Regions from separate parts of the Homo sapiens genome. Here region 2 is linked to region 1. The links are contacts of gene promoters, found by promoter capture Hi-C in blood cells and fetal thymus (Javierre and others, 2016). All regions are on one chromosome and are shown on one strand. Each heading gives the region's core, a stretch centred on a gene start or on the middle of the fragment in contact. The rest is flanking DNA. Distances are from core to core; before and after follow the strand shown. Region 1 holds the start of PPFIA2 (PPFI scaffold protein A2). Region 2 has its middle 44 kb from the start of LINC02426.

Region 1 (7,259 bases), core at 2,134-4,633:
ACTTTAACAGTAGACACCTGGCAAGACACCTGGCACCTTTACTTACAGGAAATCCTGTGTATATACGTATATATACATATATACACATCCTATTACTTCTGTCCCGCTAGAGAACCCTGATTAATACAGATTTTGGTACCAAGAGTGGTTTTAGAGGAACAAAATATTAAGAATGGAGTTATTTTATTGGTTTTGGAGCTTCTAGAGTTGGCTGCTTAATATGATTAGACCCCAAAATGCTAAGGACTCTACTTATAATAGTATGGAGAACACTGATAGTCTTGGTGTGAACATATATACATATATATACGTATATATACATATATACGTATATATATGTACATATACACATCCTATTACTTCTGTCCCACTAGAGACATACACACACACACACACATATATATATATACTTCTGTCCTGCTAGAGACATATATATATATATATATATATATATATATATATACACACACATATATATATATGAGTTTATTAAGTATTAATTCACATGATCACAAGGTCCCACAATAGACTGTCTGCACACTGAGGAGTAAGGTGAGCCAGTCCAAGAACTGAAGAATTTGGCGTCCAATGTTCGAGGGCAGGAAGCATCCAGTGCAAGAGAAAATGTAGGCTGGAAGGCTAGGCCAGTCTAGTCTTTTCACATTTTTCTGCCTGCTTTATATTCTAGCTACGCTATCAACTGATTAGGTGGTGCCTATCCAGATTAAGGGTGGGTCTTACTGTCCCAGCCCACTGACTTTAATGTTAATCTCCTTTGACTACACCCTCACAGACACACCCAGCATCAATACTTTGCATCCTTCAATCCAATCAAGTTGACCCTTAGTATTAACCATCACAGGAGTGTATAGACAAAAAAACTCATAATTAAAATAAAATGTTAAGAAGAAGCATTAGTACATGTGGCTACTATAATATTATATTCTGGTGTGGACTACTTTGATTGATATTAGGCACTAAGACTAATAATGGCTTTCACTACTTCTACTTAAATCTGGTTGACTATTCAGGAGACAAGCATATCTCATCTTAATAATTCATTGGGCATCAAAAACAGTAGAGTCAGATTTATATTAGTATGGGGGATGTTTTTTCTTTGAATAAAAAATATTTCCCTGTTCTTTTTTTTTTTTTTTTTTTTTGCTCTGTGCTTCTTTTGTTCCCAAATTTCTCCAGATGTATCTACACAGTGTTTCTCAGAGTGGGATCCCTGACCTAGCAATATTAGTACCACCTGGGAACTTAATAGGCACGTAATGAATCAGATGTAATGAATCAGAAACTCGAAGGATAGGGCCCAGCAATCTGTGTTGTAACAAGCCCTTCTGGAGTGTCTCTTGTATGCTAAATTTAAGGGCCTAAACTAGAGAAACTGGTGCAGGTGGTAACTCTTCTCATGTGAATCGGCTCACCTAATGCCTCATGCAAAATTGCTACTTTAAACAGTCTTTCTCAGTTTTAATATATTATTTACACTCTTTGCAGTGAAGTTAGCAGTGATAATGTCAAGTTTTTCAGCTGAAATTTACTATGAAGACTGTATCTTCTTAACAAAATATCCTTTAACTCGTGATATTTTTTTCTGCCTCCCATTATCAAAGTTTTTCTTTCTGCGATACCTACCATGGGTTAGCCTTTAACTATGCTGTGTCAACTGTATGTGGGGATTATACTTACAATTAAAACTTGTATTTGACATACGAATGGGACTCAAGGAAATCAAAACTCTTCTTGGAAACAGTAGGAACATCTGAGCCAGTAATTAACAAACGTTGATTGCCAAGGAAATTCAAACCAAGGTTTAATAAGGAAGGAATTCTTGTAAAAATAGACATAATAGCTATATGTAAAAATAAGAATATCTCTCATGTATAAGGAATTTTTATGTTTTGTGTAGAATTCTAGAGAGTGAAAGTTATGAGTACTGATATATGATTAGTATGTTGAAGCTATTACAATATGAAGTTTGTCTGAAAATAGACTAGGCTATCCTGTGAGGTGAAGAGTTTCCTGTAGTTAGGGGTATTTAAGCCACATCAAATTGTGGGTCGATTGGGTGGTCTAGACCCTTCCTCCTCAAGTGTAGTACCATCTGGGAGTCATTAGAAGGGTAGAATTTCAGGTTTCACCCCATTCCTGGTGAATCAGTATCTACAACTTAACAAGATCCATGGATGATCTGTATGCACATTATGTCTGAGAAATAGTGCTCCAGTTGACATCTAATGAATTTTCGTATTATTTTTATACTTCTTATAGGATTGTGTTGTGTTGTAAAATTTAAATAACAGTCTAGAATAGAAGTTGGGTAAATACATGAGCTTTACCCCACTTTCCATTGTAAAGTCGCTAACTGAATTAAATACTTCCCTCAGAAACAAAGATTGTTTCTTGGATATTGTAGTTAATTTTAAGTGAACAGTTATTTACATACTAGTTCTTTGTTAACTTTGGACTCTTGGCGTTACACAAAAGTAAAACACGTCTTTTGGCTTTCGTGTAGCACACTCAGAATATTTTCAGTAACCCCCAAAATATATTCAGTGTTTAATCCTCCAATTCCTTCATGCATGTCCTCTTCATTTTCACCAAACCCAGCAGGATTCGTGACTCTCCCTCACAGAAACGTTCCCTTTCTGCTCAGAGTAGGTACTGATTTTGTCTCCTGCTTCCTCAGTCTGTATGAATGGACAGCAGCAACGGAAAGAAAAGAGGGTAGGTAAAGGGAGGTGGAGATATAAGGGGGACTGGAGCGCGATGGAGAGACCAGACTCTGCTCAAAGCTAAAATTTACTCGGGCAGGGAATACTTAACATACAATTCCCATTACCAAAACAATATGAATGAAGAAGAACTGAAGAGGTAATGAGAAATGACAGATGCCGCCACACCCTAGATTGGCTCAGGTCCCTACAACCATGACTACCATGCCCTGGCCCAGTGGGAAGAAAGCTGCTTAAAGAAATGACAAGCACAGAAGACCGGGGAGCCAAAAGGTGCCCAAGTCCGTTCCCATCCCCACCAGCGCAGGCTGACACAAGCGAAGGCTGTAGAGCCCATTGTGTGAAAGAAGCCCAGGCGGGGAAGCGTGTGCCCCCTTCCCACTTTGCCCATCCCTGGCCCTCGCCTTCGCAGGGGGCACTGGGAGCAGAGCGAGCCTCGGCAGCCCGGGAGCGGCTCTGGGGGAGACGAGTGTATCCGCGGGCGCGTGTGCGTGAGGAGGAGAGCAAAGACGTGATTACTTCAGAATTTATTTAAGGGCCGGTGGAAACCACTGCAGCAGCTTCCAGGGGAAGCCCTTGTTCCAGAGGAAGAGGAGGTGGTGGCTGCCAAGGAGGAGGAGGGGAGGAGACGGAGGAGGAGGAGTAGCAGCCACCGCACGAGGCAAGTGAGGAGAGAAGATGCTGTAGCGTCCTCACCGGCTGCCAGCAGGTTGGTTCTTCCGGCCAATTGAAGCAAGCAAAGAGGCTTGCAGAAAGGCCGGGAGGAGAAAAATGGGTGTGTGTGCTGTGGCGGCGGGGGGGCGGCGGGGGGGAGGGAAGGGGGGCCGGGGGACGGCGTGGGGTGATGTTTGCCTTTCCAGAGAAAAAGCGCCTCCTTTAAGTGAAACGAGACACGGGAGCGCGCGGAAACAGGCTGGGGGCCAGGAGGAGACCTGTCCTGCTTTTTGCATCCCTAGGGACTCGTTTTCCTTTAGGTTTCTAACTCCCAGGGTTAGCCTTAAACTCCAGAGGGGCTCCAGGAGGGGAGACTGGGTGGAGAACTTCTCTCCCAGATACTTCTCACGCCTTTTCTCCAAGCTTTCTTTTGGAGGGACGCCCCACACACCCCGGGTGGCCCGGGCGCGGAGGGGGAGCGGCGCCGCGTGGTTAAGTTTCTGAAAGTCAAACCCAGTCCCCGGTCTCCGGTCTCCGCCCCGGGGCTCCAGCTGCACGCGGGGAGCTGCGGCTGTTCTGGCAAAGGGGCCGCGGCTGCTTTAAGAGCCGCCTCCCCCTCTCCTCCTTTGACAATGGTCTGAACCGAGCTTTGCTTCCCAAAGCAAAATTTGTAATATGCCATTTTTCCGATGGACGCTTCTCCTTTTGGCTGCTGACGGAGCCACGGGAAGATGCCGAGCTCCTGCCACGCCACCGGGCCGGGGCACGTTCCGGGAGGGCGCCGGGGCACGCGTGTGTCTGAGCTGCCTTTCTCCTCCCGTTGCTAGGGAAATGGTCCAGGAGTGCTGGGTGTGAGCCTCCCTTCTCCTCAAGCCGGAGACTGCGGTTGTCATTGATCAATTGAAGAAGCAAGGACCCGAAATCACAGACATTAGGTACAGAAGCTGTCTTTGAGTTTTACTGTCTCCTTTCGCTGTATTTTTTGACCACCTCCCCGGCCCCACCCCGCCCCCAGGGAAGATGAGATGCAAATTCCTCCTTGTTGATTACCGTTAGGTGCCTTTTGCTTTCACCTCATCCTCTCCATCTCCTATCTCTCTACCTCCTGCCTACTTGGCTGTGTCCTGTTGGGCAGGATGAACAATTTTAGTGTGGAAATGATGAAGTCAACTTCTTCAAGGTGGTGGGGGGTGTGGCTGAGAGATAACTGTCCAGTAGTGTGGGTTGAGCTGGCTCTGGCTGTCCGTAAATGCACTAGGGTAAAGAAAGTGTAAAATGTGTCCATTAAAGGTGATAATCATATTTCCCGAGGACAGAGGCTTTCAAAGAGTTAAATAGGAGGGAGAATATTCATGTAATGTAATCAGACAATGGCTAGGATTTCTCTCACTGAATTACTCCTTGTAGGTTAACTGAGGTGGAGCTGGGATGGTTCTTAAGACTAAATGTTTTCAGAAGAAACTCACTATGGATAATAATTACATTCTTACCTCTAGTAGGGCCGAATTCCTAGTGATATGATTAAATAAAGTCATTTGTTGACAGAAAAAAGAAAAAAAGCTTTTTGTAGCACTCTCATATCTGAAGAGGTACTGCTTGGATGGCATATATTGTTAAGGAACACATTGGATCTTGAAAGCCCTTGAGTGAGGACTCCAGTGGGCATTCAAACTTTTATTTTGAAATCTGAGAAATTTAAAAGACAGTCAAGGCTATGTGCTAAGAATAAAGGAGTTATTTTCCTGATATAAAATTCTTCCGGCTAAATTTAAGCACTGGGATAATTAAGCCAATCAGATTTATTATTACTTTTTTTCTTTCTCAACAAAATTAACAATGTCTCTGACTAGGTTTCAAAACCTTCAGTAATTTAATGAGGAAAGCATCAATATCTAGATGAAGATAACATAATTTATATATCAAATTGACTTTGAGGGGGGAATGATGAAAAAGCAAATATCAAGGCAAATTGTTAAAATGCCCTTTCTGGCTTTTCAGAAATTATGTGATGAATGCAGTTTTTAGTATTGATACTGATTATAAAAGTTAAAAGTGATGTATCTGGGTGAAACGCACTAGACATTGAATGACCATAGCCTTCCGGACTGTGCAAGCTGCTTCAGATGTCATCCATTTTTTAAAAGGGTGTTTAACTCTTATATTGAATATATATCTTTAATTGCTTTTAATACTTAAAATGTGCAAAATGTGCATTTAAGAAATGTTATACTGCATTTTAAGGATTAATCAAATATTTTGTAATTTATGTTAGAATCTGAATTCTAATGAAAGAAACTAAGCTAGTTCATGAAAGTGGCCTTATTTTTTTGTAGACTATTTTTTTCTAATTTTGATAAGAAGACTTTGGATTTACTCATTTGGGTTGACTGCAAGGTATAAGCAGCATATATTCATCTTATTTCCTAAGTAAATTTTGCATAATTTGATTTTTATAAATTGGATTTGAAGAGTTCAAAAGTATCTACTAGAATTAAACCTTTACAGCAGCAGAATGAGTCGTAAAGGTAAAATATTGTTTCTACAAAGATTAATGTTGATCACTTTATAATAGAAATTAATACTTACATTTGTAATTGCCCTTTATATGTTTTGCTGTGTGTTCTCAGTCAGGTAACCTATTATATATTTTCTTTTTTTTCCTCTAAGCATAGATTATTGGCCCTCTTTCATGAAAGAGAGAACTAAAGTTTTAACATGTAAAGTAACTTGTCCTGGTTCACCTGCCTTAGGAGTGGAATCAAATCAAGTTCTTTTGAGTGTAGATTTAATAGACTTTCTAAGTCCCTAAGCCACTTTTCATCATAGCATCTTTTGACTAAATCGAAGACTACCTTTAATGTTGATTTAAGACCCTAAAGTTTGTGAATGTTTATATCCCATGGTAACAATGAGGGATTGTTAGGATATTATTTTCAGGTGAAAATTATATTGGGGTATTCACTGCTGTTATGCTTTGCCTTGGAATTTAAAGTTGTTCTGAGTGATTCAGGGTGGAAAGGGATTAATAACTTTCATTCAAGAAGGACGTAATTTAAAATATAGATTTAAGAATTTAAATCTATAGGTAACCCTAACGTTGTGAGTGTTTGGGCACAAATTGTCATGATGCTATGATTTGCTCTCCCAGTACTTTGTTTTAACCTTAAATGTCAAAAGTAAACATATTGGCTCCTGGTAATCATTTCTCAGAATGACATAGCGGCTCAATGTGTAGGTTTCATGCATGGCCTGCTAACTAATCGTTTTAAATAATCAAATGTGTTGGAACACTTTTTGTTGTTTTCCAATTCCTTTTCAATTAATATAAAGAAAATTTGAAGCATCTAAAAAGAGTCTGTATTTTCCATCTTTGTGATAGTCTTTGAATGAAAATCAAATTGAGATAAATGCAAGAAACAGTTTTATCCATTAAGTGTGTAACAGTAGTATCAAGTGTGGGTATCAGGGTGTATGTGCTTATATTCATTTTATGTGTGTTCTCTGTTATATATTTTAGTGTGCATACAAAATTGAACAAATTAAATTCCTGCCTTCAGGTAGCTCAGTGTTATGAGCAATGAGCAAAACTTCAAAGCGTTTAAAACTTTCCTAATGTTCAATGACCCCCTTAATTTTTTAATATAGGTTATCAATCACAAAATACTTTACTTACATACTTTTTAAAAGTTTTTCTTAGTTTTCAGGAGTCCCTGACCAGATCATTCACAGATAATTGAATTTCGCTCCTCAATAACCCAATTTATATGAAGACTCACATAAAAAGTAATTAAATATTGAGCTGTTAAATCTTGACATTCTATTTGAAAATATCACCAGAAATATTTTCCCCAAGGACAGGAA
Region 2 (7,259 bases), core at 3,235-5,734, 240 kb before region 1:
CCAATATTTGTTCCCTCTCAAACATGTGCACTTACTCCTCCCTTTCATGAAACCTTCCCCTTGAATCTTTAAATGGCTAGTTCTTTCTCCTTATTCAAATTTGGCTTAAATACACCTTTTAAGAGGGCTTTGCTGAACATTTAGCCTATATTAGACTACTTTCCTGTGACCTCATGCAATCGTTCTCCATCACATTATTCTTTTATTTATGTTATAAAACTGATTACAACAACTAGTTTATTTCTTAGTTTACCTATTGACTGTTTGGTTTCCTCTGATGAATGTAAACTCCTTGAAGGAGTGAGCTAGTTTGTCTTTTGATTGCCTCATCTCCTGTTTCTATGACAGACCTGTTCTGTTATAATCGGTTCTCAATCAACATTGCTTATTTTAATGAATGAAAAAAAAAGTGCACTGACTTACAGAGACAATTCTAGATATGAATCTCAGTGGTGCTTTACCAAGGTGGTGAGTGGCCATCCTGGGAAGGTCTTCTTCCTCTACTCTTAAGCAGCTGGGATAATGAGGACTGAGAGTGCCAAAATCTTCTTCACTCAGTGATAGTGGGGTTTTTCCCATGGAAAATTGGAATCCTGGAAATATATCACTCTTAGTTTTAGAAAGCTCAACTATATAGCACAATAGGGCATTCTGTAAGATTTACCTTTCACTTTGTCAAATCTCAACAGTTACACTTGAAAACCTTGAGTACTTTCCAGTTGAATCTCTTAATTGAAAATTATATAGATTTTGCTTGTCTATATTATTTTAAAGTTTGTTTCAAAACCATCAAACCCTGAAATCTGGAGTTACACAATGTGATTATATAAACCAGAAAATCATTAGAATGAAATTGCCTTCCAAACTCAGTATTATTGTCTTTTTTCCTGTTTTACCACATATTTGATAGAAAAACTACTTCATAATTTAACCTCATATTTTTTTCAAAGTAATGAGATAATTTGTGAAAAACCATGATGAGAAAATGATAACATGAATTGAGTTTATATTGTGTGCCAGGCACTTTTCTAAGCACATTGATCTTATTTATTCCCAAAACAAATTTCTATGGCAGTGCAGCTATGGTTCCATTTTACAAACAAGGAGACTGAGGAAAAGAACGTAGCGATAGTTAATGTGGAATGAGGATTTGAATGCAGATAATATGATAGGTGGACTTTGTAGCTTTCATCTGGGAGAAAGAAGAGTATTTTCTACCCTCTCAGCAGAGGACCCAGGTGGACATTGCTCTATCTATTGTTTGCCTGAATCACAGTCTGGGCAGATTGGAAAGTATTTTGCCCTAGGGCTATCCCCTAGAATCTTCCTTCCCCTCACCTAAAATTCTTCTGCCCATGGGTCTTTGGACGTGCTGTTCAATCTTTCTATAAACATTTCTATTCCATGGATTTATTTAATTACATAAATATTTGCTCTCTCTAGACAATTTTACAAGGAGTAAAAATATATAACTGTGTAAAAATCCCTTATAATCTCTATTGTTAATCATTATTCCTTTTCTTGCAGTCTCTTATTATCTTTCTTTTATGACTAGACACTTTGTGTCAACATCTCCTTATATGTTTTCACACATCTATCCCTCCATGCATGTTCCAGGAGCAGCTCCTCCATGGTTCTTGTAGGCCTAGGCCTGTCATACCACAATCTTTTAGATTTTAGAGACATCTAAAATAAGAAAGTTAGTAGTTTGAACAATAGGCTGTATCCCTGCTATTGATCTAGAGGCAATAACTAGTCAACCTGTCCTCCTCCACTCTTCATTCTGAATCCCCCGCACCCTCAGATACTACCTCATCAGGCCTTGGTGGCTTACTGGATTGTGTGACTCAAACCTTCATTCTGAGGGGTCTGAGTTCTTGATAATTATACCCTCCCTAGGCTGGAGTTGCTGCATATGTTTGATCACAGTTATTAAGGGGCTAGGGAATACCAGAGACACCTGGGTTCCATATGTATTCCAGTTTGTCCCCATTGTGTAACAGCATCCCTACCTCCTTCTGATGAACACAATTATCCTTGCTGAAACAATGACTTCTCTTCTTATTTGCTTGTTCTTGGGCACAAGAAATCCAAAGTTCCTTGATAGCAGGCATATCTTGTTCAATGAGACCTTTGCTGTGTCCTTTGGCAGGACCTTTGTGGACTAGAACAGCAAACAATACAGATTTCAGAGTGGACTTCAACAGGAATAAAAATTCTCCAAGGAGTCATTGGTAGTGATGGTAAGGGTCATGGTAAGATGGGCCAGTCATGTTTCTACCCCTTGGTTCCCAGACCCACGCAATCTTCCTATTAATGACACATTATCATATAGAGTTTCCTGATTTCATGCACATACAACATCATGAAGGATGCCCTACCCCCACACGTCTTCTTCAAGTGTTGCCTCCAAGCTAGAGCTTCAGTCATTCCATTGTTCTATGAAGCTTGTTATTTCTGGATGATGAGGGATGTGTTATGACTAGTCAATCCCATGGGCATGGTACTACTCCCATATCTCCTTGCTGTGAAGTGTTTCTGCTGGTTGGATGCTGATATGGTTTGGCTGTGTTCCCACCCAAATACATTAACATAATACGTTAACATTTACATAATATATTTAGAATCACATGGTTTCCAGTGATTAGGATTTAGTCATGCCTTGAAAGGAACAGAAGTCAGTGGCTAGGCAGCACATTCCTTATAAAGGATACATTAATGATGTACTTAGGATGACTAATATTAAGAATTTAAACACAGTGAATTTTTTTCCTCAGAGGAAGGAATTTTATTTTCCAAAAAGCATTTACCTCTGACATGTCAATTCCTGATTTCAGTGGCTGCAGACTTATGTACTTCTGTGCCACCCTTAGGGCAAGTAAAGTACATGTCAAGTAATAAACTACTTTTAGCACAGAAACACCAGAAGATATGCTCACATCCTGTGGTGTGAGGCACAGTGGGACAATCTCCACATAGAGAGCATTCTTTGCCACTGGTGGCTAATGTATTGTCACTATTGGGAACACCAGTAAGAGGGATACACCATGAAGATAACTTGGCTTTCAACTTCTGGACATTGATAAGTGGTAGAGAAAAATCAGAAATTCAGCAAAGCCATGCCAGAGAATGGCATCTCTGAATTCCCACATGTTGTGGAAGGGACCCGGAGGGAGGTATTTGAATTATGGGGGCAGGTCTTTCCCATGCTATTCTCATGATAGTGAATGAGTCTCATGAGATCTAATGGTTTTATAAAGGGGAGTTTTCCTGTACAAGCTCTCTCTGTTTGCTTGCTGCCCTCCATGTAAGATGTGGCTTGCTCTTCCTTGCCTTCTGCCATAATTGTGAGGTTTCTCCAGCCATGTGGAACTGTAAGTCCATTAAACCTCTTTTTGTGTGTGTAAATTTCCCTGTCTTGGTTGTGTCTTCATCAGTAGTGTGAAAATTGACTAATACAGTAAATTGGTACAAGTAGAGTGAGGTGCTGCTGTAAAGATAACCAAAAATGTTGAAGCGACGTTGGAACTGGGTAGCAGGCAGAGGTTGGAACAATTTAGAGGGCTCAAAAGATAGGAAGATGTGGAAAAGTTTGGAACGCCCTAGAGACTTGTTGAGTAGCTTTGACCAAAATGTTGATAATGATATGGACAATGAAATCCAGGCTGAGGTGGTCTCAGATGAAGATGATGAACTGGTTGGGGACTGGAACAAAGGTAACTCTTGTTATGTTTTGACAAACAGACTGGCAGCATTTTGCCCCTGCCCTAGAAATCTGTGGCACTTTGAACTTGAAAGACATGATTTAGGGTATGTGGTGGAAGAAATTTCTAAACAGCAAAGCATTCAAGAGGTAACTCGAGTGCTGTTAAGGGCATTCAGTTTTAAAAGGGAAAGAGGGCATAAAAGTTTGGAAAATTTGCATCCTGACAATGTGATAGAAAAAAAAAATCCCATTTTTTTTTTAGGAGAAATTCTAGCCAGCTGCAGAAATTTGCATAAGTAATGAGGAGCTGAATGTTAGATCTCCAGGGCACGTCAGAGACTCTTATGGCAGCCCTTTTCATCACAGGCCTGGAGATTTAGGAGGAAAAAATGGTTTCATGGGCTGGGCCCAGGGCCCCTCTCCTGTGTACAGTCTAGAGACTTGGTGATGTGTGTCCCAGTTGCTCTAGCCGTGACTAAAAGGGGCCAAGGTACAGCTCGGGCTGTTGCTTCAGAGGGTGGAAGCCCTAAGCCTTGGCAGTTTCCATGTGGTGTTGAGCCTGCAAGTACATGGAAGTCAAGAATTGAGGTTTGGGAACCTCCACCTAGATTTCAGAGGATGTATGGAAATGCCTGGATGCCCAGGCAGAATTTTGCTGCAGGGCTGGGGCTCTTATGGAGAATTGCCTTCCACCATGATTGTGAGGCCTCCCCAGCCATGTGGAACTGTAAGTCGATTAAACCTGTTTTTTTTTTTAATTGCCAAGTCTTGGGTATGTCTGTATCAATAGCCTCAGGCTGGTGGTGGCAACTGAGTCACAGCAAGCAGGAAAGGCAAATGCACATCCTAAGTAGGTGTCTAACCCTGTGAGAATCAACCACTGCCCTTCTCAGGATGGAAAGGGCCCAATGCTGTTGATTTCCACCATGTGGTCAGTTGGTCCCTTGAGGAATAGTGCCACACTGGGATGTCTGGAGCTGTTATACACTGAATTGTGCCTTTCCAAAATTCATATTTAGAAATCCTAACTCTCAGTGTGACTGTATTTAGAGATAGGGATTTTCAGAATATAATTAAGTTTTAATAAAATCTTAAGGTAAGGTCCTAATATGAAAGGACTGTTGTCCTCATCTGTGGAGGAAGAGACACCAGAGTTCTCTCTCTTTCCCTCTCTGTACATCCCACAAAAGAAAAGCCATGTGAGAACACAATGAGAAGGTGCAGTCTGCAAGTGAATGAGGGAGGCCACACCAGAAACCAACCCTGCTGGCACCTTAATTTTGGACTTCCAGGCTCCAGAACTGTGAGAAAATAAATTTTTGTTGTTTAAACCACCCAGTCTGTAGTATTTTGTTATGCAGCCCTAGCAGACTAATATAGTTGCTGACTAGATAGAAATTCAAAGACATAGTAGCTGGATGTGTGTGTCAATTATGCTCTCTCCAGAGGAGGCGCTGAGTGAGTGGCTGCCACATCTTATTATTTTATTAATCAATTGGCAGGCAATTTTTTAAAGTTGGAATTGTTTTAAATATAAGAATTAACTACAAAATTTTAATAAAATGCCTTCTCCATTCAAATCACTTTTTTGTTTTTCATTTATTTAAATCGAGATAAAATTCATATAACATAAAGTTCAACACATTAACAATATTAAAGTGTAAAATCAGTGATTTTTGGTGTATTCACAATATTTTGCAATTATCACCACTAAGTCATTCCAGAATGGTATAAACAACACCCAAAAACCCTACTCTTATAGAGCACCTGAATATTTCAGTTAAGAGTGCTAGGGAAGAGATAACTAATACTATATCTCAGCCCTTAGAGCTTTCAGCAATCTGTGAAAAATTCCAATAACATGTATTTCTGCAAGAAGGTATATTTTGCCTTCAGTTTCAAAAGGCATGTTATTGAAATTGCTAAAAATCGAAAGTAGAATTGTCTTAAACATCTTTTTATAGTCCATTCATTAAATCTTTAGCATGAATAGAAGTGAATCTGACTTTTTTAAATCTCAAAATAAATCCATAAAAAATCATTTCCCACTTATTTGGAGTTGGCATCTCTGAACCACTACATACATTTATAAATAATGTGGCATATTTTTATTGTACATCTTCTATGTTTAACCCAACTAGGTGGTCAGGATAAAACAATAAAAAAGACAGGTGCTCATTCATGCTCATCCTACTCTTAAGGAAATTATAGAGTAATGTGTTCCTTATCGGACCTTCACTTAAGATGTTAAGATCAAAGAAATTTTACATCTTTTGATGCAGCTTTGGAGGCCTGTGTATCTGTTTTACCTCTATTACCATTTGTATGGTCAAGTAGAGCATAATGAGAGGAAACACTGGGCAGAGTATCTGTCATTTTATTCAGTTGATACACACTGTGAAGATAAATGTTTCTAATAAGGTAAGCAAAAATGAGCATTGTCATACAGTGCATAGCCAGCTGGAAGTAAAAACATTAAATGCAAATGAAGGAAACCCAGTCCAAATCAAATTCATGAGCTACAGAAATGGGACCTGGGTATGTTTTAAAAATTGTTTTGTATGTATTACTATTTTCTTAAATTATATGTTACAGATCAGGAGTGTCCAATATTTTGGCTTCCCTGGGCCGCATTGGAGGAAGAAGAATTGTCTTGGGCCACACTAAAATACACGAACACAGTAGCTGATGACCTTTTAAAAGTGGCAAAAAAAACTCATAATGTTTTAAGAAAGTTTATGAATTTGTGTTGGGCCACATTCAAATTTGTTCTGGGCCGCATGCAACTCACAGGCTAGGGGTTGGACAAGCTTCTTATAGACCCTTTCTATAATCTGTTCTATAAAATAATAATTTCCAGTGATGAAATTATTTTCTTCATTATTTACCAAAGATATCTTAATCTTTTAAGGTATTTAAGGTATCTACTATTTCTGCAGTGAACAAAATTCTTCTGTGAAAAAGTGGCCTACAGCCTGTGGGTGTGTGTCTTTCTCTACATGTGTGTGTGCTTGTGGGTGTGTGTCTATGTATGCACCATTGGGTGTAATCCTTATATTTCTTACTACCTAATCTAGTTCTTTATTTACACTATACATATTCTGGAGTTTACGCTAAATTACTCTTCTATATTAAATTACAAATCCTCATGAGGAAATGTCTCTTCGTTCCTTTGGAAGTTAAATTTAATATAGTCATAGTAAAGTTTATTCTCAAGACTTTTAGCAATATCTAATAAATATGTCTAAGTAAGAACATGCATTATTTTTATATCATCAAACTCAAGGACAATATCACTGGGGCAACTTTATAGCATTTTAAAAATTAAATACATATAATTCTTTTGTTGAAGTTGCCTAGGAACACATTGTATTTGAAAATGCTTCCAAGAATCACAGTAAGGTGGAAGGAGTAGATTGGAGCCAAGAGAAGATTTTACTTTACAAATACAGTTTACACTAAACTCCTTTCAAAAAATACAACTGGAGTTGTGGTGGTAAGTTTGCTTCTGAGTTAGATAGAAAATGTCTACCTCTTAATTAGTCATATTTGT

What was found. The method cuts DNA at HindIII sites, captures the fragments that hold promoters and counts their contacts. A CHiCAGO score of 5 or more calls a contact.
Region 2: a contact is called between a fragment that was not itself captured here and the fragment with the promoter of PPFIA2 in region 1, in 1 of 17 cell types (neutrophils). The highest score is 5.6, in neutrophils.

Annotation. Positions count from the first base shown.
Region 1 is chr12:81,755,474-81,762,732 of GRCh38, reverse strand. PPFIA2 (PPFI scaffold protein A2) reads left to right here and starts at 3,383. Exons shown (of 33, transcript NM_003625.5): 1 at 3,383-3,453; 2 at 4,226-4,333. RefSeq lists an enhancer at 3,585-4,523. The HindIII fragment of the contact is 5,625 bases long and covers 1-3,823 here.
Region 2 is chr12:81,994,504-82,001,762 of GRCh38, reverse strand. No RefSeq gene overlaps it. Among named protein-coding and RNA genes, the nearest start is that of LINC02426, 44 kb to the right of the region's middle. The HindIII fragment of the contact is 4,069 bases long and covers 2,450-6,518 here.